Linked DNA regions of Homo sapiens: all the other regions are linked to region 2. Evidence: promoter capture Hi-C in 16 types of primary human blood cells and fetal thymus (Javierre and others, 2016). All regions are on one chromosome and are shown on one strand. The core of a region is centred on a gene start or on the middle of the fragment in contact, and the rest is flanking DNA. Distances in the headings are between cores, read along the strand shown.

Region 1 (3,954 bases), core at 333-2,832, 810 kb after region 2:
TTCTCCAAGTTTGAGAATTTATGCTTCAGCGAGCTATCCAAAAATAATGGGGGCAAGGAATGACAAGGTTTTATGAATTTTTATTTTATTTGGTAAAGTGAGGATATCACTCTACTAACATCTTCTGACAACATAGTTTTGTAAGAGAAAGAACATTTATCACCACAAAAGTGAGATAAAGAGCAGCCTCTCCCTTCCCAAAAAAAGGCTAATTGGCAGCATTGAACCGACATACCAAAAAAATAAGAATAGGGTAAAATAAAATTCAAAAGCAGAAAAATTACAACATAAAAATGTATTTTACAATATTCATTGTATGCAGTCATTCCCTCGATACATCTTGTAAATTTGGATGGAGATGTGTATTCAACAACATAACTCTGGATGAAACTTAAATATGCAACTTGTCTGCTATTTTATTTTATTTTTTAAGACAGGGCCTCACTCTGCCACCCAGGCTGGAGTGCAGCGGCTCAATCTCCACTCACTGCTACCCCCACCTTGTAGGCTCAAGCAATCCTCCCACCTCAGCCTCCGAAGTAGCTGGGACTACAGGAGCATGCCACCATGCCTGGATAATCTTTTGTATTTTTGGTAGAGGTAGCGTTTTGCCATGTTGCCCAGGCTGGTCTCAACCTCCTGAGCTCAAGCAATCCGCCTGCCTTGGCCTCCCAAAGTGCTGGGATTATAGGCATGAGCCACAGTGCCCTGCTGCTATTTTATCACAGTCATTATTGATTCTTGTCTCACATAGACTTGTTAATGGAAGTGGACCCCAGTCTTAAGCAATTGTACTCAATGTGGGATATTTAGATAAGCCAAGAAGTCAGACAACAATAGCCCTCTTCCCACCAGGCTTTTTTCTGCATAACCCCTCCCCAGGGAGAGTGTGGACACAGATCATAGAAACTGGAGCATTGCTGGGAGCCTCCAGCTTGGCAGGCAGCCGCTTGCCCCTGGCTACACGGCCTAGGTCCCTGGCAACCCCCCTGAGCAGATAGGAAGGAAGAAGAGTGGCCTTCAGGGATGACCTTCAGGAGCCACTATTCTAAGATTCCCTCCAGCTGTGCTTCACCTTTTCACTTAGTGAGAAAAATGGCCCATTGTAATAACCAAGGACTACTTTAGTGAACGTTAGGGAGGCATGTATGAAACTGCCCTCCATCCCCTAAACCAAAAATCCACAAAACAGTGGCCGGTGGCTTAACTTGGCCCTCTGCCTGAACATTTGCAGTTTCATGTAGAAAGCACAACAGAAATCCAATTAAGAGAAATGATAGCCCAATAAAAGGGAATTTCATTCTTGTCATTAGTAGACCTGTTAAAAAAATTATGATTATATGTTGAATTTCATCAAAAAAAATTGTGAAAATGTTTTTTCTCTTGTTATATAAGTCCATACATAACAACCTAGATTTTGCCTCTTGGCCCACATAGTGTCAAATATTTACTGTCTGGCCTGTTTCCAAAAAAAATGTACCTAGCCAGGCCCAAGACCTAGGCTTTTGGGTGAAGAAATAGTGTCTTTAAACGGCATTAGCTTCATTTTGCCTCTGGCCAGCAGTAACTTTCTTCTTGTCTCATAAGGGCAGTATCTTTAAACGGCATTAGCTTCTTTTTGCCTCTGGTCAGCAGTGACTTTTTCCTTGTCTCATGAGGGGAGAAAGAGGCCAGCCCACAGGGGTCCCTCCCTCACTGATAATGAGTCATACCCAGGCGACTGAATCGTGAAGGTGGAAGGCAACCTGGCTAAGGAGAGGATGAAACTTCATATACCACGCTGTGGCCTAGCAGTTCTTCCACGCCCAGAAAACAGACGTTCAAGGGGGAGTGCTCCGGCAGGTCACCTGACGTTGAACTGTTTGACAGTCCTGAGCACACCCCAGTGGTTGGCACTCAGTGGTAGCAGGGGAAGCCAGTGCGGCGGGAATGTGGATAATGCGGGGCTGGGCTGAAAGGTCACTGTCATCCTCCCCTCTCAGCTGGTGCTCCTAATTTAGGATTCTTTTATCTCCCTAGACATCTAAATGAAATGCATTTGATTTGTTTGTTTGTTTTTTTACTTTTAGGAAATATTAGGAAGCTGTGATTTTCAAAGCTAATTATGAAAACATTTATCATTGGAATCAGTGGGTGAGTAATTTTGCTACAAACAGCTCTTTAAGATACTGAGGATGTCCAAATGGTGTTTCTGTGTGGATGGAGTGGGGGACGGAGAAGCAGTGAGGATTCCAGAGTCCTGGGGAAGAGCAGACCACTGTGGAATATCAGTGGAGCACTGGCTTCATAAATGCCAACAAGAGATGGAAGAGTTTTCTATAAACAGAGAAACAGAAGAGTCAGTCAACCACATTTACCCACTTTCCCATTTATTTTGTGGAGCTAACACCAGAGACAAGGTCTGATTGGGCACTGCTTTCATTCAGGATGATTTATCATTCCCCATATCATTCTCCTTCATCACGATGGAGGAGAAAACTTAGTTTCTTTCCAGCTGTGCCCAGCTTCAGACATTTGGTATACAGAACACCTTCACCTCCATTCCTTTCCCCCATGTTTTGGGTGGCCTTATGTCCCATGTTGCCCAAGCTAATCCTTGTGGCCCTGGATGCACCTCTCTTTCTCTCAAACATGTTCTAAATTATATGGTCATCCTACCTGTGGTGCCATAGGCAGGCATGCAAATAAAACATCAACATCAACTGAAAATGACATTATTTGTTTTGCTACCATATTATGTTCACCTTTACTCTAAGTATATTCACATTGTTTGTGACCCAATTAATAAAATATCTGAGACTACTTTGTTTGTAATTTTGGGGAAATCATTGTGTTATGGTATTACATTACCATAGTAAGTCATCAATCAGAAGTAAAATTGAGTGAACTAAATGTTAGAACTCTGCTTTGCCTCCCATCTAACCAGAAGAAAAGTTCAGTTTTTCTCTGCAGTACTTCTCTTGTGTTTCTCTTCCTTCTCACCCTCACTGCCACCATCCTGATACAGGCTGTCATTCCCTAGTCCCCATCTTTCCCTTCTAATCTTTCCTACACACCTCTATCAGTTTAATCTTCATACAGAACATTTTGATTATCTGCCTGATGAATGATATTCAGTGGTTCCGAGTTATTGAGAATTAAATCTGAATATCATGATGTATGAAGGCCATCTGTAAGTAATAAAGGAAATGTATTAGCCTCAGGGGTAGCAGGCTGCGGGAAAAATTTGATACAGGAGCTCAGTGGTATCACCAAAGGCAGTTTTTCTCTCTTTTATGTGTCTTTCATTTGGGTTCATCTTAGAATTGGCTTATCCTTTTGGTCACAAAGATCTACTAGGAGCCCTGTGACTTGTTTCTTCATAGCCTGTCACTGGGCAGAAGGGGAAATGCTTCTCTTCCCCTAGGTCATAGGTCTCCCTTTGCTGGATAAGCCTGGTCCACATACACTCAGCCACCATGGTAAAAGAGGTGGGATTACACTGATTGGTTTAGGTCAGTGGGTTCTGTTCTGGAATTGAGAGTGGGAGCAGTCCCAACCGGACCTAGAAAACAGACATGGAACCTGGAGAGGCAACTACAAAGTCCACTACAGGATCCAATCCAGCCTTCATCTGGCATCTCTGTAAATAAGATTTCCCTCTTCTCAATGTCCCAATACAGGGCCGTATACCTAGAAACCTACCTTCTGTCTTGTCCTGTGTACTAGGTACTATCCATAACTCCCTAAGAAAGCCTTCTTTCCACTATCTTTTATTTAGCAAGTGCCATGATTTCTAATTTTTTTCTTTTAAGAAACAGGGTCTCACTATGTTATCCAGGTTGGTCTTGAACTCCTGACCTCAAACAATCTTCCCATCTGGGCCTCCCAAAGTGCTGGGATTACAAGGATGAGCCACTGCTCCTGGCCAAGTGCCTCAGTTTCATTTTAGTGCTGCTGCACCTGTGAAGCCCA
Region 2 (3,656 bases), core at 1,142-3,641:
CAGTGCCCAACTTTAAGTTCATGTAAAAAGACCTGAACGGACTCAGTGTTTTCTTCCAGAGAAAAAGAAGCCAGTAGAATCCCAACGAGCCTTTAGAATGGAAATCTTCCGCAGATAACAGTCACTCAAGCAACAAAATCTGGCTGGCTTCCCTTACTTCCTTAGTTCCAGGGGCAGGAGGGAATACAAACCGTGCCCCTTGCCCTAGTCTCAGTTCTCCACAGGGCTGGCTTCTCTGGAATATGTCCTCCCTCTGGGCGGGCAAAGAGCAAGATCTTGTGCTCTTGCTCCTCTGAACACTCCCCGCACTCCCCAGCTCCTTCTAAACGCGGCGACAGCAGCTCTGCCTCCTCTCCAGGTGCCGCATCCCCCAGGCGGCGGGGAGGAGGGGCGGGGGGTGTCCCCGGGTTCCTGGGCGTGGAACGCAATGGCCTCAGAAACTGTCCGTACTCTCCCACTCCGCCGGCACCAGCCAGCACCTCCCTCTCCCTTCCCCCTGGCAGAGCACGCAGGGTGCGTGCACCCCGGGCAGTCCCCAAAGCGCGCCTGCTGGAAAGGCGCCATCCATCATCCTCACCTCCCATTCCAGCGGATTCTCGCCTGAGCCCAGCCAGGGCCCGCCCCTCCGGCCAACCCCAAAGATGCTTGCGGTGTGTATGTGGAGGGGGGTACTTTCTGGGACCCACTTTCATAGCCCTCTCTACCCCCATTTCTCGCAGGGGTGTCGGGGGAAGAGAACCAGAAAGCCAAGACCACTGAACCCGGAGTACTTCCAAATCTGTTACGCTTCCAATCATCCTCATAGCATCACCTTAGTTTATGGGCATTTCTCCCTAGCAGGAGAGCTCTGCCAAAAGCCCGAGAGCGGCACCCCACAAAAACCCCGCGCCCCTGCTGCCTGCCCAACTCTCGCCCCACGGCGCAACCTCCCGGCCCGGCACCTTCCGTCCCGGGGTAAGACTCCTCGTTTTCCCGGAGCGGAACCCAGCCAGCCGGTTTCGGAAGTTTCCCACCTCCCCACTACAACTCCCTTCCGGGAGCCCCCACGCGGACCTCGCTTAAGGCGAGAAAGCCTAGAGGTCTCCCCTAAATCTGCACTCACACCGGGGCCGGCCCCCTCTTCCCTCCCCCTCCTTTCTCCTCCCTTCCAGCTCCAGTCCCCGCGCCTCCGGAGTCTCCAGCGCCAGAGGTTCTCTCGCCCAAGAGGAAACTTCTTTCTGGGCTAAATTCAGGTCCGAGCAGGAAAGGCTTTCCCTTCCCCGCAGGCATCAGAGGCGCGCTCACCCCCTATCCCCCAAAAGACCTAATTTCCCCCTCTCCCCACGATCACCCTCTCTGAGACTGCCTCAGATTACTAGTGCTACTCGACTTTTCAGGTCAAAAGGTCCAGCCGTCTCTGAAGCCACCACGGGGGCACTCTGGATTTTTCCCGAGACCCTACCAGTCCCGCGTGGCTTGGAAAAGACAAGTAAACAAAACACGGACCCGGCAACTCTGGGGTGTGTGTGTGTGTGTGTGTGTGTGTGTGTGTGCGTACGCGCGCGCGCGCAGGAGACAGAGCATCGCCCAAGAGTTAGGGCAACAGCTGCTAGAGCACATCTGGAAGAGGGGGAGGGGGTTCCACGCAGAGGGGACAAGAAGCCCCCAGTGGCTTCAGGGCCGAGGGCTGGGCTAGCCTGTAGTTCGTTACCTGTCCTATGTTGATGAATCCGTACTTGCTGGCGATACGGTTGGCCTCCGGGAAGCCCCCGGCGATTTTGACTGCCCAGTGGTTGGTGTAGACGCGCGTCCGACACACGGGGAGCAGGCAGCCCCCGAGCAGCGCCAGCACGCACAGCAGGTCCAAACGTCCCGGGCAGCAGCAGCGGCTCCCCCAGCCCATGGTCCCGGCGCCTCGCTGCTCCCTCGCTCGCTGGCTGGTTCCGCGCACTAAGGGCGCGCACAACTAACTTCTCCGGCCTGCGCCGCCCGGCGAGCAGCCCCGGGCCGCCGCAGCTCGCAGCCCCGGGCGATCGGCAGGAGGCGGCTAGCCCCGGCAGGGAGCAGAGCAGCGAGCCTTACGCCGGCTCCTAGACCATCCCTGGGGCTGCCGGGACCTGTGCTCCCAGCTCTCCGGCCCGTGGGGCGCTCGGCGATGCTCCCCGGCTCGGACGCAGGAGGAGGCTGAGTGGGGCGGGCGTCCTCCGCAGTTGGGTTTCGCCCGGCTTGGCTCCCGGACTCTCCGACTCGGTCTCGCTCCTCCCGGGGCCCCCGAGCGCGGCGGAGATGACCAGCGGGAGCGGTACAGGCAGCGACCGGGCGCCCCCTCTGCTGGCCCGGGCTCCAAACGCTCGCTTGCTCGCTCCCAGCGCTCCCTCCGGCTCCGAGCAGCGCGCGAGGATTCTGAGTGGCAATGGCAGCAGCTCCTGCTCTGCATAAATGACTTCCCCCGCCCCCCTTAACACCCCTCCTTTCCCACATCGCCCTCCTCCTCTCCCTCCTCCGCCCTCTTGAAAGCGGCCGCAGCCAGGCGCTGACGAGGTCCTAGCGCCTCCGGGTTCGCCCAGCTGTAACCTCCAGGGTTCCGGGCAGTAAAGGCAAGTCTTTCCAAAGGACTGAGAAGAGCGCTCCGAGATCGTGGTTTTACTCCCTTCTCTTCCCTCCCTGCTGGATTTGTATGAATTTACCGCCACTTCCCGAAAGACTAAAGAAATTTACACGCCGGTGCGAATTAACCGCCCTGAAGATTCATTCATCCTCGTTCTAAACGTCCTTAAATAACTAGGCATTTAAGGAGGTCACTTACGTGTCAATTGCCGAACAAATAACTCGAGATTTTCACTTCGTTAATTCTTCATGCTTTTCAGCAGCTGTTTATTTTACACTTTCTGCTCCCGGGAGAAGCTACCACACAGGACAGTAAGTCGCATCGACTCCTAGAATTGGCTCGAAAGCCAAGTCTGTTGCCTGCTCACTTTCGAAATCTGCGATACTAGGCAACGCCACGGGAGAGTACAATTCCGGCCTTGGAAGTGAGGAAAGATGTTTCTATGAATATTTGGTGTGCTAGTGGATGGACATGTTGGGCCAAGGAAATAACTCCATTCATTTGTTGGATTGCGTCTGACGAGGGCTTCTTTTTCTCCACCAAGGGAAAAGTTTCCCAACTTTTCCAAGCACAGTCCTGTAACAGTGAAAGACTTTAATATGAAAAAGACCACAGAGGAAGTTCAGATGAGATATGTGGCGGCGTCACCTTCATTACTCTATCATGCACTGTGACTGCAGCAGGCAGGAGGGAGCTCAAATTAACCCTCTTCTCGCTTCTCCTTTACAACCTCCCTGCCTTCCTGGAGCGGGGGTGGGGCACAGGGTGATTTACTGTGACAAGAAAAATTATCCCGTATGAAATAATTCAACTGACTTTAAAAGTATTCACTATATCCCTAACTGTCCTCCTTTCTCTCCTCCTACCATGCCCTATTTCTTTCTTCCTGTTAATTTAAATGTGTTTGAGATTAATTAACTCATCCCACCTATAGCTTTTGGTACTGATTTTTTAAAATCTGAAAGATACCTGCAGACTTAAAATTCCACTAGTACCTTTGAGCATAGCATTTGACATTTTACATATTGTATAAGGTATGCTATATTATTTAATCTTGAAAACAAACCCA
Region 3 (3,902 bases), core at 981-3,480, 670 kb after region 2:
ATTGTACAACATTGTGAATGGATTAAATGCCAATGAATTGCTCACTTTAAATTAGTTAATTTTATGTTCGGTGGATTTCACTCCAATTTTTGTTTTATCTTGACCATTAAGATAGTTATTTTCAGGCCAGGTGTGCTGACTCATATCTGTAATCCCAACACTTTGAGAGGCCAAAGAGAGAGAATCTCTTGAGGCCAGGGGTTTGACACCAGCCTGGGCAACATGGTGAGACCCTGCCTCTACAAAAAATTTAAAAAATAGCCAGGACTGGTGGCACATACCTGTGGTCCCAGCTACTCAGGGGCCGAGTGGGAGGACAGATTGAGCCCAGTAGATCAAGGCTGCGGTTAGCCAAGATCACACCACTGTACTCCAGCCTGGGTAACAGAGCAAGACCCTGTCTCAAAAAAAATAAATAAATAAATAAATAAAGGTATTTCTTTTCAACTTAGTTGATAATAGGTTATACTCAAACACAAAATCAGACCAACTGTGATGATTTGTAGTGATGTTAATGATTATTATTTCTTACGGAACAAAATATCACTGAGAAAAGACCCCAGAATATATCCACTTGGCGATTGTTTTCAGAGAAAAGAAATAATGTTGAGGGGAAACGTTGCTGAAAAGAAAAAAAAAATCTATAGAAAAAAAGAACTGGAAAGAAAGAAATTATATTTGCTTCTTAAGAAAGTAATCTTTTTATCAAGAGTTATTTTCCATAAGATATTGGGGTACAGGTGGTATTTGGTTACACGAGGAAGTTCTTTAGTGGTGATTCGTGAAATTTTGGTGCACCCATTTTTATATGGGAAAAGAAATGTACATCAGCAGTTGACCTTGGAAACTATAAAACAATCAGAAATCCACTTAGTAACCAAAACCCTAAAAATATTACCTTAGCATGGTGGTCCTCCATAAAGATAGTTGCTATCTGTTCAACAAATATATTACCACCAAAGAGATAAAAGCAAGTACAACCTACAAATTTACAGTGTTTCTCTGTACGTTGTTCAAAAAATAGAATTCACTGGAAGGATGAAGCAGGCAATGTGATTAATTCATAGAAGAGTTCAATCTTATTACAGCCATTACCTTCTAAGTGAAGATATAGTGCAAACAATGCTGTATTTTTTAGACTGCTGTTATCAATTCCAGATATTAAAATAATTATTTTAAGCTGTTATAGCCTACAGGCAAAACAAAATAGCACAGGAACTATAAAGCTTTGTAAAACAAAACATATAAGTAGTCAAACTGGGCTTATCCCACCCCTGCCAGATAAAAAGGCTGATCATCAGTCAAGAAATAAGCACATTAATCCTGAAGGAAAAAAATTTGCATTTCTATAATGTGAAATTACTCCTGCACTGAAAGATCTTGTTGAAAAAACTTAATGTATTTCTCCCAAAAACAATTTTTTAAAAGGTACTTCCATGCTGGGATTTCTTTTGCACAAAAAAATGAAATAAAAATCATCTACTTTCATAGTATAATAAATTTTTAGGAGTAATTGTTCTTCAACAGAGATAGAAAGCTCCACTATTAATGTGCATGATTTTCTAGATATTATTAAAAGCAATGCAATTACAGTTATGGTAATTGATATGGTTCTTACATGATAATGATCACGGGTCAAGAGTTTAAAACATAAAGCAGAACATGCTTTGCACTTTTTAAAGTCAACTGAGCGATTGAAACTTGGCTTTGCTATGAAAGACAGTGGACTCTTTTTGCCCTAACTGCTTGAGGTAGAAGTGGGGGCAGAGTGTTGCTTAGAAATCCCATGTCCCTTCTTTCATTTACCCTCTTATCTCCTCCAAACCAGAACTGTTCTTTCCTTAGGAAAAGAAGGTAATTCTCAGTTATCTGGGCAAATGAGAGTCATGCATAACAAGGATAAATCAATTTCACAGTTAATCTCAAACCCCCATTTCAGCCCCGTTTTATTAGTGTCCTAGCCTTCCTTAATAAACTGACTAAACAGAATCCGTAGGTTAAGAGTGACAGCATCTTGTAAAATTGTGGAGACCTCTCAAGGTCCTATAGTGCCATTTTTTTTCCAGCTGCTACTGCGCTCGCAGACTTGAAGCCTGGTTCTGACCTTTATGACAGGGGAAGCGGAATGCAGCGCAGTTTAATTAGACCATTTTGACTGTTCATTTGCTTGGGTATTTATGAACCAAATCCAATGGATCCAGAAAATTTACTCAGGTGTAAGAAATGGGGAGAAAGATCATTACCTTTGATGCGGCAGATAACAGCAAACTCTAAGAAAAAAATCTCAAAGGAAAGTCAATTTTTAAATAACCTGGAGACCACAGTTTAATGTGTTTTTGACAGCATGTAAGATCATTTTTGAGCCTTTAATGACGTTATATGATTCTTTCTATGAACCAGAAACAAAAAAACCATGGCATCATCATATTAAAACACTGATATATTGAAACACTGATACAGATTTAAAAATCGGTGACTGGACAGGAAAATATTAACAGTATTGTTAATAAAGTTTATCTTGGGGTGCTGAAATTATGAGATATGCAGTAGTTATTTATATTTTTAATTTCCTCTAAATAAACATGTTGCCTTTATAATAAGAAAAAATCAATGATGATTTGTTTCTTAATTTTAAAAATTAATAGCATATACTTTTATTGAGCTGGAATTTCTAACTATTTTTCAAACTGTCTTCTCCAGGAGGAGAAGCAGATTACACAGATATTCAGGCTCTTTGTCCAAACCTCAGTTTTATTTTGTTTATTAAAGTTCTACTTAATATTTCTTTTTTAAAAAACATGGTTCCACTGCTTTTTAAAAAAAAAAAAACAGTTGGAAGTCATTAATGTGTTTCAAATAGTTCCTAAGAATTTACTGTATGCAAAATTCTGTGTTAAGTAAACTGAATTACATAGAAGTTGTGATTTTCTATTGTGTACACACACACACACACTCATTTCCCTTTAATCACTACTCTTTTTTTCTTCCATGAGTAAACCTCAGTCCTATTTTGTTTTTTTCATTTCCTACTCACCTTAATTCTACATTTCAAAAGCCTAGAAACTAAGTGAGCAAGGAAAGAAATGTCTTCAGAGGATGAGAGAGGGCAAACACTACTATTCTACATGGTGTCATTCAGTATGTAGAAGTGGAGGGAGAAAACAGTCAACTGAAAAGTTTTGGGGTGATTAAGAGATGGATGGGGAAAAAAAGAATAGGTTTTAAGAAGCTTCTTGTTGTCCTTTGAGAACTTCCATTTACAATTTGCTTGCAATCAATTACACTTTGTCAGATTACTGCTTCTTTGAATTTGCACTTGCTAGAGATTTGGCCTCGTGGTGCTCTGGTTATATACAGGTTCTAACTATAACAGGTGAAGGGAGCAACACAAAAAACAGATTTATTACATACAGCTTCCTAGAATGAAAGAAAATCTAAATGAACCTGGACAAAAAACTATCCTGGTCCTCAGCATGAATCTTAAATGGCAATAGTCACTGGTGAGATTTCTCTAAGCAGCATTTGTCATGCTTCTGAATCTATGATGGTAGCACCAATATACACTGAGCATGGGAGTTTTCTATTATAAAATTTTGAAGTTTGCTACTCATATTCAATGTAAGTTCCAATGTTTCTTTTAGGATATTGATGTATACACTTTCTTTTAGGATACTGACATACACACATGAGTGTTCATGTATGTACAAATGCACAGACACACTTGGGCCAGGAGAGATGGAATTCATCTATGAGACCTGAGATGGCTCATTAAAGACAAGAACCGAACAAGCACAGAAATTGAGTTTATTCTGGCTATAGCAATGGGGAGCACCCCAGATCTGAGGATCAGAGTGTCCCAGCAGGGTGGCTTTGTCTTATACCTTTATAGGTAGGTGTAGACA
Region 4 (4,087 bases), core at 976-3,475, 690 kb after region 2:
TGGAGGAGGTGCTAGCATCTACATGCACACCGTTCCTAATAGTAAAATCCTTGGAAGACCTTGATGTAGTTCTTGTGTTCAATCACGGCTCAGAAAGGAGCACTATTTAGTCAGTGAAATCCACAAAAACAGTTTTTTCTAAAATCAATAAACAAGTTGGAAATTATTAGAATAATTTGGTGAGTGATATGCACCAGAATTAGTTATATCACTTGTTTTGTGACATACAGTTTAGTTTAGTTAGAGAATAAGAAACCCATTTCTGATTTTCTTTTTTTTTTTTTAACACTTCACAAACTTGTGTGTCATCCTTGTACAGGGACTGTGCTAATGTTCTCTGTATCATTCCAGTTTTGGTATGTGTGCCACCAAAGCGAGCACTGTCATTTTCTTATTCACTTATTTATCTATGCAGCCATAGCAGTTGTTGGATGTTTTAAATACCTCTCAGGTTTGCAGTCATTCATTCACATAGAGACAGAAAGCTGTCATGACGGCCTGGCAGCAAATGAGAAGACATGAAGACGTCCCTCCTACACAGTGGCTGAGCTGATCTCCCTGCATCCAAGACCATTCCCACCCACCCTGCAGAGCTCTGTCCTATGACATCACCTGCTGACTCCCCTAAAATAGCACACTGACATAATGTAGATGTGGTTTACTTTTTCCTTCAGAGGTGGAGGACACTGTTACCAGAATAGAACGGGTTTATTGCCTGATTAACTGGCCTAAACGGTGGGTGAGATGTATTCATCCATTTCTAATTAGTGAAAGCTGGCTTTGTGCCAAGCTCTGTGCTAGACTCTGGGACACAGTAAGAAGAAATGAGTAAGCAAAGGAGCCTCTGGAGGAAGGACACCCGCTCAACCTTAGAGGGTAGGAAAAGCTTCTGGGAGAAAGTGGTGTTGACAACGCTGGGACCTGAGAGATGAGGAAACATTAGCCAGGCTCTTCAGATGCTGGGGAGGAGACAGGGAAAAAGAAAGGAAAGGAGGGAGGGAGAAGGAGCAGAACACAATTGCAGGAAAAAAACAGTAAGTTCTTAAAGACGTGCAAGAGAAAAAATATAGTTCCTTGGGGAAAGTGGATGCTTCTTAAGCCTGGAGCACTGAGCACAAGGTGGGTGCTATAGTTTGGATGTTTGTTTGTCCCCTCTAAGCCTTATGTTGAAATTTAATCCCCAGTGTGGCCATATTGGGAGGTGGGGCCTAATGGAAGATGTTTGGGTCATGGAGATGGATCCTGCATGAATACATTAATGCCCCCCACGGGGGGTGAGGGTGAGTGAGTTCTCATTCTATTAATTCCCTCAAACATTGGTTGTTAAAAAGAGCTGGCGCCTCCCACTTCTCTTGCTTGTCCCCTCTCTCAGCATGTGATATCCGCACACACCGACTCCCCTTCCCCTTACACCATAAGTGGAAGCAGCCTGTGGCCCTCACCCATTGCAGACGCCCAATCTTGAACTTTCCAGTCATTGGAACCATAAGCCAAATGATCCTTTTTTCTTTATCAACAGCCCAGCTTCAGGTATTCATTTACAGCAACACAAAACAGACTAAGACAGTGGGGAGCTGTCACAGGTAAGACTGGGGTGACAAGCAAAGCCCAGGTCACAGAGGTCTTCATAAGCCACATGAACAGGACTGGGCTTTATTGTGAGAGTCGTTGAAAAGATTTAAGAGAAGGGTAATGTGATCAGATTTGCATTTGAGACAGGGTACCCTAGCTGCAGTGTAGGGACTAGATGGGAGAGGGCTAGACTGGAAGCAGGGAAACAGTAAGGATTCTTGCTGTGGTAAATCAGGTGAAAGAAAGATGATGGTGTCAGAACTTAACTAATGACCACGGGGTTGAGAGAAGTGGGCATTTCACACACTATTTATTACAAAGAATTAAAGACCTTGGTGACTGATGGATGGTTTTAAGAACTGAAACTTTGTGTCCCTCTCAACTCCCGACAAAATTTATATTTTGAAACCCTAACTTTTATGTGGCTATATTTGGAGCTAGGGCCTCTAAAGAAGCAATTAAGGTTAAATGAGGCCATAGGTATGGGGCCCTGATCCAATAGGATGTGTCCTTCCTTATAAGAAGAGAAACCAGAGAACTTGCTCTCTCTCTTTCTCTCTGCCCGCCATGTAAGGACACATTAAAAAGGTGGCCATCTGTAAACCAGGAAAAAAGCCCTCAGCAAAAACTAAATTTACCAGCACATTCATCTTAGACTTTCCAGCTTCCAGAACTATGAGAAAATAAATTTCTGTTGTTTAAGTCACCTAGCCCATGATATTTTGTCATAGCAGCCAAATAGACTAATACGGATGGGGGTTCACAGAGAGAGAGGAGTCAAATGGGACCTCCAGGGTTCTAGCTTGGTTAAGATGCGACCTGGAATACCAGGCACTGATAGGTGTGCACAGGAGAAACAGGCTTGTGGGGAGGATGAGTTCCAATCTGGGCATATAGGGTTTGAGGGACTATGGGACATCCAGGCAGAGATGCCCAGTAAGCAGTTGGATACATAAGTCTGGGGCTCAGAAGAAGCAGCTAGATCAGAGATGTAGATTTAACAATAAGCATATAGCTGATAATTAAAGCCTTGAAACAACAAGATATTTCTCAGGAAGAGAATGAGGATGAATAAAAAGAAAAAAAAAAAGACTGAGGACATACATCAAAAAATCACCAATGTTTAAGGAATGGAGAGGAAAAAGAAGAGCTTTTGGGGAAGTTTAAAAGTGGAAGGGGAAAAATCCAAAAATGATGGTGGACAAACATAAATGGGGGTGTGGAAATATCAAGAGGGAGAGCATGAACAATACTGTTGGCTGTTTATGGGAGACTAAGTTAGGTCAAGGCAGAGAAGGGATGCATTGGTTCAGCAGTGCAGGGGATGCTGGCAACCTGGAAAAGAGGACCTTCAGTGGAGTGGCAAGGGCAGAGTCAGGTGCAGAGTAAAGGGCAGAATTAGCAGAATAAACTCTGAGAGAAGTGGAAGTAAAACAATAGCAGAAATAAGGTCAAACCATATTTGCAAATATTTTTACTCTTGAGCTGTAATTTTTTTTTTTTTTTTTTTTTTGAGACGGAGTCTCCCTCTGTCACCCAGGCTGGAGTGCAGCGGCGCGATCTCGGCTCACTGCAAGCTCCACCTCCCAGGTTCACACCATTCTCCTGCCTCAGCCTCCCGAGTAGCTGGGACTACAGGCGCCCACCAACACACCCGGCTAGTTTTTTGTATTTTTAGTAGAGACAGGGTTTCACAGTGTTAGCCAGGATGGTCTCGATCTCCTGACCTCATGATCCACCCGCCTCGGCCTCCCAAAGTGCTGGGATTACAGGCGTGAGCCACCACGCAAAGCCGAGCTATAACTTTTTGATAGATGTAAACAGGAAGATGGAATTCATTACTAGAAGCCATAAAGAGATACTTTATTTGTGTAATGCTATTTCTTAAATTAGACTATATGGCAGGTTAGAAATGAAGTCACATTTCAACATTATGTGGAACTAGATTGGTATATTTTGTTCAGATTAGATTTTAATGGAAATGAAGCTTTGTGAACTTTTAAGCTTTCAAAATGGTTTCTTTTGTTTATTTGTAAAGTGGCTTGAGAGCAACTATAAATACATTTTGACATCAGGCAAATTCCAGGAAAGTTATCTCTGTGTATGTAATATTGGTTGTCATTATGGTGATTTGGAGAAAATAATACTCCGTACATAATTATAACCAAATGATCCATATTGACCCAAAGCCTTACTGAACTATTGTTGAGATAGAAATATCTGGACTGTAGTAAGAGTCTTGGAAGTGCTAATTCTCACCCTCTCCCTCTACCTCCCACTTTTTCTCTGCCTCTGTAATCATCCAAATGCAAAAAGCCCTAAATCAACACTTGGCAAAATCCTCCTAACATTATTTTGAGACGTTTCTGTTTACTTGTGAGTTTTAATTCCTCTGCAAGGAGTTCTTCCCTGCTCTCAAATCCCGAAATGTACTAGAGGATTCTATCACTCTCCTCCTCCCTCCAAATCCCAGAACTTGGCCCATCGAAGACCCATAACCTTACCTTCCCTCTGA
Region 5 (3,879 bases), core at 1,355-3,854, 720 kb after region 2:
TAATTAGCAGCAGCTACAAGTATACAAGTGGGTGTTTGTTTGTTTGTTTGTTTGTTTGTTTGTTTTTGAGATGGAATCTCACTCTGTCACAAGGCTGGAGTGCAGTGGCATGATCTCGGCTTACTACAACCTCCACCTCCTGGGTTCAAGCGATTTTCCTGCCTCAGCCTCCTGAGTAGCTGGGACTACAGGCACGAGCCACCACGCCCAGCTAATTTTTGTATTTTTAGTAGAGACAAGGCTTCACCGTGTTGGCCAGAATGGTCTCGATCTCTTGACCTTGTGATCCACTGGCCTCAGCCTCCCGAAGTGCTGGGATCACAGGCATGAGCCATTGCACCGGGCCACAAGTGGGCTGTTAAAGGAAAAATGAAGAGGCAGGTCCTAGGTTGTTTACCAAGTTTTTACATTAAAATAACATAAGCTAGATTGGCTATACATTTTTCTTTGTATCACAAATTCCAGGAACATGAAGATAATGGGTGAGTCAGCTAGTCAGGAAACTACGTGGAAAAAAAAAAAAAAGAACGAAATGCCTTTAAACAATTGCTCCTGGGCATGGGTAGGGGCTGGGGGATGACCTATGTCCCATATTCATGAATCTCCAGGCCTTATAAATGTTGCACACCTCACATAGCTCAGACTGCTCTGGGCTATTTCTTTTTTCTCAATTTAAATCAGGAATTTTCTAAAAAATAGTACTAAATCCAAAATTATTTAATGACACAACTGTCTGCTATTAACTGACCTTCATGGGGTTTGTGTGCCAAAAAAAAAAAAAAAATTTCATCTCTTCTATCCTTTTGAATAACTTCACAGATACTCTTTTACTCACTTAGTGTAAGCATGTGGCACTTATATTCCCTTCAGATGATACCATTACCCACAGGGGTAAACACTTTAAGGTTAAGATTAAAATAGCACTATATTTTTTTTTCATCAAGGCAATTTTGCTTTCTGATGTTTTGTTTTGTCCTTTATTTGTAGACTGTGGTAGAATAATATGAATATGAAAGGCAATCAACTCAAAAACAAAAATCTTCTCCAAGCATATAAATATTCTTAAAACCTTTGTTGAGAAAAAGGCTTGACATGCAAGTGGCACTCTAGTTGACTACTCTGACAAAAACAATATGTAATTTAATTTCCTTGCCATTACCCTGACGAAACTTAATTAAATGTTATGCCTCCAGAGAATATTTTTCAAGATACAACAATCCACATTTGAAATATTAAATAAGGAATTAAGCAATCCTCAATTTAGAGAGTAGAGGTTGCAGGGGAAGTTGGGGGATAAATTTCAGGCGCCTCAAAGCCAAAGCTAAACAAGGGAGTTGAGCCAAGAGTTAGATTTCAGAATTTTCAAACAAATAACAAAAGAGTTGGAGAACTAGGAGCTGTCCCCTCTTCAGCACTTCCTTGAATGTCCACAGTTTCTTCTCCAAACCCAAAGGGTACAGGAAGAAGTCAGAAAGAGGAGAGGGGTTACTTTTTTTTTTTTTTTTTGAGACAGTGTCCTGTTATGTTGCCAAGACTGGACTCAAAACTACTGGGCTCAAGTGATCCTTCTGCCTCAGCCTCCTGAGTCACTGGGACTACAAGCACAAACCACCAAGTCCAGGAAGAGGGATTGCTTTCAGATCCTTCCCCAGAGCCTAGTCTGAAGCTTCTGTTATCTAAGAAGTCAGCACCAAAAGAGCCATCTTTCCAAGGAAACACAAACCAACCTGTTGCTTTGTTAATGTTATTTATTGTTGTCTTCCCTTCTTTAGATATTCACTCCTTTAGGAATGAAATCTTACCTCTATGATTCACCCTTATAACTCAGCTAGGGCATGCCTTGAATACAAGAGGTCAATAAATATTGTTGAATGAATGAATGTATATATGACTTAACACTAGAATGTACAGTAAATGATGAATACAGCACTGTTCAAGTTGAATATACATTGAATTCAATTTTATATAAAGTTGTACACTAAATGCTGAGAAAAACACAACTATGAAGATTAACCACAGCTCTTACTCTTTAGGCATAGATGGTCTAATTGAAAAGTCAAACTTGCACTTAGTGACATCAGCAAAATGGTGAAGTTGGCAGCTGCAGTTCTCATTTCCCACAGAAACTCTAAAAAACAAGAATAAACTATCAGAATCAACTTTTTCAGAACTCTAGCAAACAAAAACTGAATTAAAAAAAGCACAACAAAATGTTAGGAAAGTTTGTGGTGATTTTATAGCAGATTTGGTCTTGAAGCAGGGGCTGCCTGCATTCTTAGTGTAGGACGCTTTCCTCTGATTCAAGAGGGAGTGGAGCAGAGCAGATATTATCCACAAATCATGTATGTCTGTTCTAACCTGTCTGGGGACTACCTGAAGGAGTGATGGAAAGCAAACATCTCTTTTTCTACCTCAGAAATCAGGCCAAAAAAGCAATGCTCTCAAATACTACAAGCCCAACTAACAACTTTCAGGTGCCTGGGACAAAAGATTATAGTCAAAACATAAAATAAGTTGCCCAAGGCAAAGGCTGAGGAAAATTTCTTTAGGAAATCAGGACATTCAAAAGTAGTCATGTATACTGGGAATTTAGAAAGCCATGTACACACCCAGGACAAAACACATACAGAAGAAAGACCTAAGATGACCCTACACTTTCACCTTGAGTTGATCTGTAGACTCAGTGTGAGGATGGCTAACTGTTGAAGGAAGGGCACACATGCACATATACAGAGGCAGTCTGGAAAGATTAGTAGAGGTGGTTTTCCCTTTCTCTCCCTTTGTTTTGTTTTGTTTTTAGTTCCTGGCACTCACGGAAATCTCAGTCAGAACACTAGCTGAATATAAGCTAAGGAACAAAGACTTCTATGACCTCACATGATAAAAAATATAGTCTTTTCAATAATAGTTTGGAAAAAATACTAAACAAACAGACTACTATAACCTTCAACAATAAAAAAAATCACAAGGCATACAGGAAACAGGAAATTGTAGCCCATTCAAAGGAACAAAATAAACTGAAAGAAACTGTACCTGTGGGAGCCCATACCTCAGACTTACTTGACAAAAACTTTAAAACAACTGTCTTAAGTATGCTTACAGAGCAAAGAGAAAACACAGATACAGAACAAAAGAAAATCAGGATAATAATATATGGGCAAAATAAGAATATCAATGAATAGGTAGAAATTATATAAAGGAACCAAACAGAATATTTGGACTGAAAAGTACAAGAACAAAAAATTTTAAAATTCACTAGAGAGGTTCAAAAGCAGATTTGAGTAGGCAGAAAAAAGAATGGCCAAATTTGAAAATAGGACAATTGAAAATACTGAGTCTGAGTAAAAGAAAAAAAAAAGTGAACAGAGTCTAAGGGACCTGTGGGATACCATCAAGAAGACTAATATATACAACAGAAGAGTTTGAAAAGGAGGAGCTAGAGAAAGGGGCAAAATAATATTTGAACAATATTATTGTTCAAATAATGGCTGAAACTTCCCAAATTTGATGAAACACATGAATCTACAAATCCAATAAGCTTAACCAACTCCAAGTAAGATGAGCTCTGAGATCCACACCAAGACACATCATGATCAAACGGTCAAAAGACAAAGAGATAATCTTAAAAGCAGCAAGAGAGAAGCAGCACATCACGTAAAAGGGAGACTCAAAATTAGCAGCTGATTTCAAAAACTATCAAAAACTGTTTGGGCTAGAAGACAGTGGGATAACATATGTGAAGTGATGAAGGAAATAACTGTCAACTAAGAGTTCTATAACCAACAAATAATTTTTCAAAAATGATGGATAAAAATAACACATTCTTAGATAAACAAGTGATGAGGCAGCTTGCTACCACTAGACCTGTCTTACAAAAAT
Region 6 (3,592 bases), core at 948-3,447, 650 kb after region 2:
CTGAGATCATCAGACTGAACTTCCTCATTTTATAGATAAGGAAATTGGGCAAATAATTTAGCTTCTCTGGGCTTTAATGTCATCCCAACTCATTTGTTCTAAGGCAAGACTGCAGCCTGAATCATGAGACGTCTTCAGTGCTTTCTTCTATACAAATTCCCAAAATGTGACTACTCTGCTAAATGGTGATATAAAATAGAGTTGTTCATTGCATCTGTCTCAAAAGTCTAAAAATTCTACAAATTACTCTTGAGTCTCAACTATTTATTGAATAACTCCTATGTGTGGAATACTTTGTTAGATGTTGGAATTGAGAGAGAGAGAGAGAGAAAGAGAAAGAGAGAGAGAGAGACAGAGACAGAGAGAGATAAAGAGAGAGAAAGAGAAAGAGAGAAAGAGAGAGAGACAGGAGAGAGAGGGACAAAGAGAGAGAGAAGAGAGAAAAAGAAAAAGGAAAAAAGAGAAAAAGAAAAGGAGAAAAGAAAAAGAAACGAAACCTAGCAGAGATACTTTCAGGACAGGGTGACGGCTATGGTGTGTCTTCTATTTTGGATGTGTTGAGCTGCTCTTCCCTATTGGGCTAATTACAAGTTCTGAGACTCATTATTTACACTTTTCACCTGTTGTCTACTGGGATTTTCAAAAGAACAAGCAACATATTTCCTGAGGATCCCCCCAGCATCAAAGCTAAAGATTAAACAAATGAAATGTTTTAAAATTGAGCTGATATATCGGCTATTACCACTGCTATTGAATAAACAACGTTCAGGGGCCAAGAGGGTGACTGAAGTTGCCTCAGTTGTCTTTTCAGGAAGGAAAAGGGGTCCACTTTCACACTAGAGAATGCTTCTCTAAAATTTACTCAATGGGGCAACAGTTTACAAACTGTACAGAGCTCAAGAGTTCCAGAAATATGCTTCTTCTTGGATGGTATGTGGAGACAAAGGAGCTATGAAGTGGGGGTGTGGGAGGATCAAGTTCTGTTTTCAACTGAATCAGTTCTCTTATATAGCATATATATTTATATATTATATATATTCTTATATTATATATTATATATTCTGATAATATGTTATATATTCTTATAATATATAATATATTCTTATATAATATATATTCTTGTTATATATTATATATATTCTTATATTATATATTATATATATTCTTATAATATATTATATATTCTTATATATTATATATATTCTTATATTATATACATATTTTATATATATATATATATCAGGGTTCCATATAAGCTTTCATTCCTTCTCCCAAGAAAACATTTCTGCTGCCGCTGCTAGAAAGCATCTGACACATAACACTAACTCATCATGTAGATCAAAAATTCTAATTTCATAGAATGGCACGTATAACACTTTCAACAACCCAAACCCTTGTTTTGTAACTATATTTCATAGATATTTGCCTTCCTTCTCTATATATCAATACATCTTAGATCAGAAGAGTTTATAGTACTCTTTCAAGGAGACCAAAACAAAAAGAACACTGTTTAAATTGGTTTCTGTAGGTATACATGTAAACACAAAAATCCCAGATACCTATCAATCATCTTTTCTTTCTTTTCTAAAGAACTTGATTTCCTGCATGCTGGTACCTTGAAACCTATTTTAATTTAATCTTCATTAGTATATTTTCTATACAATGGTAATCATCGATCACTATAATATTTGGCTAATAAAAACATCAAAGGAAAATCTGTGTGATCTTTGTTAACACCACTTAATTAAAGGTCCTGTATTATCTGGGAGGGCCTCTGTGGGGATTTTAACTGGTGGCTCATTGGACACGCAGCTAGCTGAATAGATTGGCCCTTACTAAGACTGAATACAGCTCCATCACCGTTGAATGGATTAGTGGAATAATAATCAGCAATAAAATGCTATGGAGATCTGAGAAGTTAAATACATGGTAATAGTCATCCCAATAAAACTGTTCTGGAAATGACTAATGAATCATCTCAACTTAATAGTAATTCTGTCATACTAGGAAAGCAACAGAAATGGAGCCAAGCTGCACATTAGAAGCTACTTGAAGTCCCTGTGAACTGATGCCTTCTTAGGTTATGGCAGACAAGTTCACCCAACAAATATTTACTGCATGTCTGCTAAGTGCCAGACACAGAGGTGAGATCCTCTGTGTCACTATTCATGAAATGGTAAGAATTTTTATTTCTTTGCCCTGCTTCAATCAGTTCCCCCACCTCAGAGAGGCCCTCATTTTAGATCTTTCAAGAGTCATTCAGATCAGGAAAGTGACAGAGCTTGACTCCCCAGTTCTCCTAACAGTTCTGCAGCTCTGCTGACCACCTCGACTTGTGAAACACAGATAAAGGCATCAGCTTCCACTCTTCCACTGCTGCAACTGCCTTCCACAAAGATCTTCTCACCTGAACCTTAACTTGGAGAACTGTGGAAGAAAAGCTATAAACATCCAAGTCAAGAAGATGGAGAGACATGCCTGTAATCCCAGCACTTTGGGAGGCCGAGACGGGCGGATCATGAGGTCAGGAGATCGAGACCATCCTGACTAACATGGTGAAATCCCGCCTCTACTAAAAATACAAAAAATTAGCCAGATGTGGTGGTGGGCGCCTGTAGTCCCAGCTATTGGGGAGGCTGAGGCAGAAGAATGGCACGAACCCAGGAAGCAGAGCTTGCAGTGAGCTGAGATCGCGCCACTGCACTCCAGCCTGGGTGACAGAACGAGACTCCATCTGAAAAAGAAAAAAAAAAAGATGGAGAGAGCAGAAGCCCCTTTTCAATCATTTATTTTTTTAATTTCTGTGAGAATCAATTATATAGAAGCACTGTATTAGGTACATAGCCAAATGAATGAGTGAGCAGGTTACTGCCTGAGAAGGCTTAACAGTCTAGTGGGGCAGAAAGAAGTGTTATTAGTATTACAGTGTCTAAATGGTACAACAAAGCACTTGGGAAAGAGAGAAGAAAGAGAACAGGGCTTGATTCAGATGAACAGAAGAGTCAGGATTCACAAAAGAGAGGTGGTCTTCACTGAGAAGATGGGAGCTACTGAAAGGATAACTGAGCAAAGCCATGCCAGCCGCCAATCCACTTGCATATTGTATACTAAGCAGGCAGAAAGCCAGAGAAAGCTTCCATGGGATTTATCCCCTCTCCATGTGGCTTCATATGTGTAAGGAAAATGGCCGTGCTTTAGTCAGGAACAGGCCGAGGCAGCCTTCTGATGCAACATGACTCAGAGGGTTTGGAGTGCAGGCGCACGGTTCCACATGTTATGTAACCATGCCACATGAGGCACATTATGTAACCACACCATGTGAGGTGCATTAAGTAACCACTCAAGTGCCCTCACGCTTGGCTTGGAGCCACTATTGTCTGTAAAAGGTATAACTACCTTGCTGATGCTGTACATATGGCTTGCTTGTGCCCACAGCCCACTTGCACCCAGAGAGACAATAAAGCCATGTTGAAATTCCTTGCAATTCTTCGAATGTTCTTTCAGCTGCCTGCCACTTGTCCACCCACTCCCCTCAGACCTCAGTTAGAACCTGACAATTGGCACTATGAGCAGAATCCCAAGGTGAGTGAGC
Region 7 (3,717 bases), core at 761-3,260, 740 kb after region 2:
CAAACAGGCATCACATCCACATCTCATACTCACTGTTGGCATGAAGCATTTTCTTGTGGCCTCAGGAATTCACCTTCTGAAATGGGTAATAACAAAATATGCAATTTAGTTCTTTTTTGTTCACCTTGTTCAAAGTTAATATGATTGTATGATACTTTAAAGTGTCTTCAATTCTCTTTTTGTCATTGAAGCTGTGAGACTAAATTCTTGAAGTTTAGACTTTATAGGGGAACCTATGAAGGTGCAAAGTCTATTCATTTGAATAATAGTATTGTCTGAATTTTGAAGTCATGTAAGAGCAGGATAGTAACACCAAACACCTTTCTGATTTCAAATCATCATGTATCAAACATCAGACCCACGGTCTATCAAGCCCATCAAACCACTTGAAAGCAACAGGATAAAACTGAAACAGTGGCAGAGACAATCTCCCTACTTCATCTTTGAATTACTGTAACAGTAATAACCAGGTCTTTTCCAGTTATATATCTCTTCTCTGTAACTCAAATAAAGTACATTTATATTGAAAAACTCGGCCGGGCACAGTGGCTCACGCCTGTAATCCCAGCACTTTGGGAGGCCAAGGCGGGTGGATAACTTGAGGTCAGGAGTTCGAGACCAGCCTGACTAACATGGTGAAACCCTGTCTCTACTAAAAATACAAAACTTAGCCAGGCGTGATGGTGCACACCTGTAGTCCTGGCTACTCGGGAGGCTGAGGCAGGAGAATTGCTTGAACCTGGGAGGCGGAAGTTGCAGTGAGCTGAGATCGCATCACTGCAGTCCAGCCTAGCAACAGAATAAGACTCCATCTCAAAAAAAAAAAAAAAAAAAGAAGAAGAAAAAGAAAAACTCTACTACCACATATGAAGAAACCTAAATGACTGGAAGGCAACATCATTGTCCTCCACTCATTTTTAAAGTATTTTAGGAAATTCTGCTCTTCAATATTGGTGGTGAAACTGAAAAACGTGTTGACACACTCCTTTGTATAACACACATATCTGGTTTTAATGCAGACTTCCCTGTTCATGGTTATACCCAACATTAACTGAGCAACTGCTCAGTAGTAGAGTTTTTCAGGAACTAAGTCATTTGCATATATGATTTTATTTAATCCTTCTAACTCTAGGCAGTAGATACTACCACTTCCTCCACTGCACAGCTAGGGAATCTGGGTGTTTAGGTAACCTGTCGCAGGTCACTCAGCAGAATCAGGCTTGAATCCAGACAGTGTGATTCCAAAGCCCATACCCCTCACCACTTCTCGAAGCATTCTACTAATTTCTGTCAGAACTATGGGTCATTTAGAAAAGGTAACCATTTTTCCTTTGAGGCTCAGCCTCTTCACTCCTTGTCTATTCCTTCCACTTTCCTTCCTGCTTCCTGTCAGGCTGTCTAATGTATACCTTTGGATTTCCTCAGTGTTCTTTTCCGGGCACCGCGAGGAACCTGGCCTCCCTGTGGCTCCCAGTTGCCCACAGGGCTGAGCCTGCTGGGAAACCCAAGCCGCTGGCCACTGGCGACAGACACAGCAGCACTGCCTGGGAATTGTGAAGTTACTTACCTCCATGTACACATCGAGCTCCCAGACTCAGGTAAGACCACATCCCCTGACCCTTCCAAGGGATGCATTTATTTTCATGGTTACACAGAAGTGAGGAGCTCTCAGACTCTCTGAGAGAACTGCTGAACTTAGCAATGTAAACTCAAAGCAAAATGAATAGGTGCTGATCTAAGCTTTCCTTCTCTTATACTTACTCATACTCTAATGTGTACAGAGTAGGAAATTTTGGAAACTTGGGAGTAAAACCTGCTTCATTAAATATTTCTTTAGGGTTACTGGGAACTAAAAGTTTGGTGAAAATTTCTCTGGAAGCGCTTAGGGTCATTTTAAATAAATTATGAATTGATTAGCAGATATGCTGAATTTGTTAGATGCCTATATCAAGGGCTTCCGTTGGAAAGAAGCTGTCCTGTTTCTGCAGATTTTTCTGAGAGAATGTGAATGATGACATCTGACTGTTGCAGCAGGCAATAGCGCGTGGGTTCCCCAGACCCGTGTGTCCACCTTCAACCAGTTCCTTCACTTCTTCAAACCTCAGCGTCTCTGTAAAAAGTTGGGGCATTAACATTCCTCGCCTAAGGTTACTGCAAAGATCAAATGACATCATGTCTGTGAAAATGTCTCGCACAGGCACTGGAAGAGTAGACATTTCATAAATGGTAGTTTTATTTAATTTCATGTCATTTTAAGGGAGGGGCAGATGTAAAAGCTTGTTATTGAGAAATAAGGAAACAGAAGCCACAAATTTGTGGTCTGCAATTTTTCCTTCACATGAGAAAACTGTTCACCAAAGCTATATTTGCAAACAGGAATACCAGAATCTTTTACAATATTTCTCCCACTAAAACCTCAACTTTTAGTAATTGGACACTTCAAAGTTTGGCTATACAATCTTTTCCTGCAATATACATATTTACAATATAAAAATCAAGACAAAAAATACACAGTCTGAGTCAATAGGGAAGGCAGATAATCAGATGTAAATGTTAGGTTCCACAGCCTATCAGAAAAGAAATCATCATTTACAAAGATGATAAATATAGTGCTCACAATAAGAAAATTAGTAAATCAGAAACTCTACACAATAAAAAACATTTATGAAGAAGGCTTATGTGGAAAAATTACATTTCCATCTTTAAAATTATCTGCAAATTACCTAAAATTTCGTTTTCAGCATTATTTCCTTTTTTTTTTTTTTTTTTTTTTTTTGAGATGGAGTCTGTCTCCATTGCCCAGGCTGGAGTGCAATGGCGCAATCTTCGTTCACTGCAACCTCCGCCTCCCGGGTTCAAGCGATTCTCCTGCCTTAGCCTCCCAAGTAGTTGGGATTACAGGCACCCGCCACCATGCCCAGCTAGTTTTTTTTTTTTTTTTTTTTTTTCCTAGTAGAGACAGGGTTTCACCATGTTGGCCAGGCTGGTCTCAAACTCCTGACCTCAGGTGATCCTCCCGCCTCGGCCTCCCAAAGTGCTGGGATTACAGGCGTGAGCCACCGTGCCTGGCCTATTTCCAGTTTTTTTTTTTTAAGATTAATAAAATGGAGTCGCCATTGCTTTGTTCAACATTTCCCTTTGAGTAATAACATAATTAATCTACTGAAAAGAGGAGCCATGGGGGCTTATAAAGAAATGCTGTAATACATGTCAGCCCAACAACAACAAAATGTGCAACAGAACAGCCCAGAAAGAAAACTGAAATGGGAACCTCTGATAAGAATTTTTCTTTGCATGAGGCTCCTGGGCCTACAACTAAACAAGTATCGCACTGCCCAAGTAGCTGGAAGGCATTTCCTATTTAAAGGGTGCAATCACTAGAAAGGAGTTCAGGCCACAGTGACTGTCAGCAAGCTCAGATTACAGCAAAACCTCTGAAGTTATTTCCAAAACATAATCAGAGCTCTCCTCTGCACAGTCAGAGCAGTGGCAAATTCCTAGAACTGATTTTTGTTGCTGAGTTCAGCACTAAACAATCTCTGAGAAAGCTCAGATTAGCCAGGCTGAATAAACAAGAAACAAACCAAAAAAATTTCCAGTGGAGTTTCAGCCACAACTAAATGAGTTGTCCTGTTTTACCAAAAATTCATGCACATAGCTAAGCACTCTCCTCATCTTCAAAAAAAAACTATAGTTGTCCAACTTTCTAAAATTCTC

Evidence for each region. Contacts are between HindIII fragments. The CHiCAGO score rates a contact against its expected background, and 5 or more counts as called.
Region 1: a fragment that was not itself captured here is called in contact with the fragment with the promoter of PCSK5 in region 2 in 1 of 17 cell types (M2 macrophages); the score reaches 7.2 in M2 macrophages.
Region 3: a fragment that was not itself captured here is called in contact with the fragment with the promoter of PCSK5 in region 2 in 3 of 17 cell types (M1 macrophages, megakaryocytes and M2 macrophages); the score reaches 7.7 in M1 macrophages.
Region 4: a fragment that was not itself captured here is called in contact with the fragment with the promoter of PCSK5 in region 2 in 4 of 17 cell types (M1 macrophages, M2 macrophages, M0 macrophages and 1 more); the score reaches 10.6 in M1 macrophages.
Region 5: a fragment that was not itself captured here is called in contact with the fragment with the promoter of PCSK5 in region 2 in 3 of 17 cell types (M1 macrophages, M0 macrophages and M2 macrophages); the score reaches 7.2 in M1 macrophages.
Region 6: a fragment that was not itself captured here is called in contact with the fragment with the promoter of PCSK5 in region 2 in 4 of 17 cell types (M2 macrophages, M1 macrophages, monocytes and 1 more); the score reaches 10.5 in M2 macrophages.
Region 7: a fragment that was not itself captured here is called in contact with the fragment with the promoter of PCSK5 in region 2 in 2 of 17 cell types (M0 macrophages and monocytes); the score reaches 6.3 in M0 macrophages.

Annotation. Positions count from the first base shown.
Region 1 is chr9:75,081,266-75,085,219 of GRCh38, reverse strand. NMRK1 (nicotinamide riboside kinase 1) reads left to right here. Exons shown (of 9, transcript NM_017881.3): 2 at 2,070-2,133. The coding sequence starts at 2,105. Among named protein-coding and RNA genes, the nearest start is that of NMRK1, 4.9 kb to the left of the region's middle. The HindIII fragment of the contact is 5,297 bases long and covers 1-3,954 here.
Region 2 is chr9:75,889,408-75,893,063 of GRCh38, reverse strand. It overlaps PCSK5 (proprotein convertase subtilisin/kexin type 5), which reads right to left and starts at 2,391. Exons shown (of 38, transcript NM_001372043.1): 1 at 1,691-2,391. The coding sequence starts at 1,882. The HindIII fragment of the contact is 12,342 bases long and covers 1-3,656 here.
Region 3 is chr9:75,214,289-75,218,190 of GRCh38, reverse strand. No RefSeq gene overlaps it. Among named protein-coding and RNA genes, the nearest start is that of OSTF1, 130 kb to the right of the region's middle. The HindIII fragment of the contact is 2,003 bases long and covers 1,229-3,231 here.
Region 4 is chr9:75,194,365-75,198,451 of GRCh38, reverse strand. It overlaps the pseudogene RNU6-1228P. Among named protein-coding and RNA genes, the nearest start is that of OSTF1, 110 kb to the right of the region's middle. The HindIII fragment of the contact is 2,673 bases long and covers 889-3,561 here.
Region 5 is chr9:75,166,414-75,170,292 of GRCh38, reverse strand. LOC105376090 (a long non-coding RNA gene) reads right to left here. Exons shown (of 2, transcript XR_001746731.3): 2 at 1,731-2,128. Among named protein-coding and RNA genes, the nearest start is that of OSTF1, 80 kb to the right of the region's middle. The HindIII fragment of the contact is 1,872 bases long and covers 1,669-3,540 here.
Region 6 is chr9:75,239,066-75,242,657 of GRCh38, reverse strand. No RefSeq gene overlaps it. Among named protein-coding and RNA genes, the nearest start is that of OSTF1, 150 kb to the right of the region's middle. The HindIII fragment of the contact is 1,877 bases long and covers 1,259-3,135 here.
Region 7 is chr9:75,148,491-75,152,207 of GRCh38, reverse strand. No RefSeq gene overlaps it. Among named protein-coding and RNA genes, the nearest start is that of OSTF1, 62 kb to the right of the region's middle. The HindIII fragment of the contact is 536 bases long and covers 1,743-2,278 here.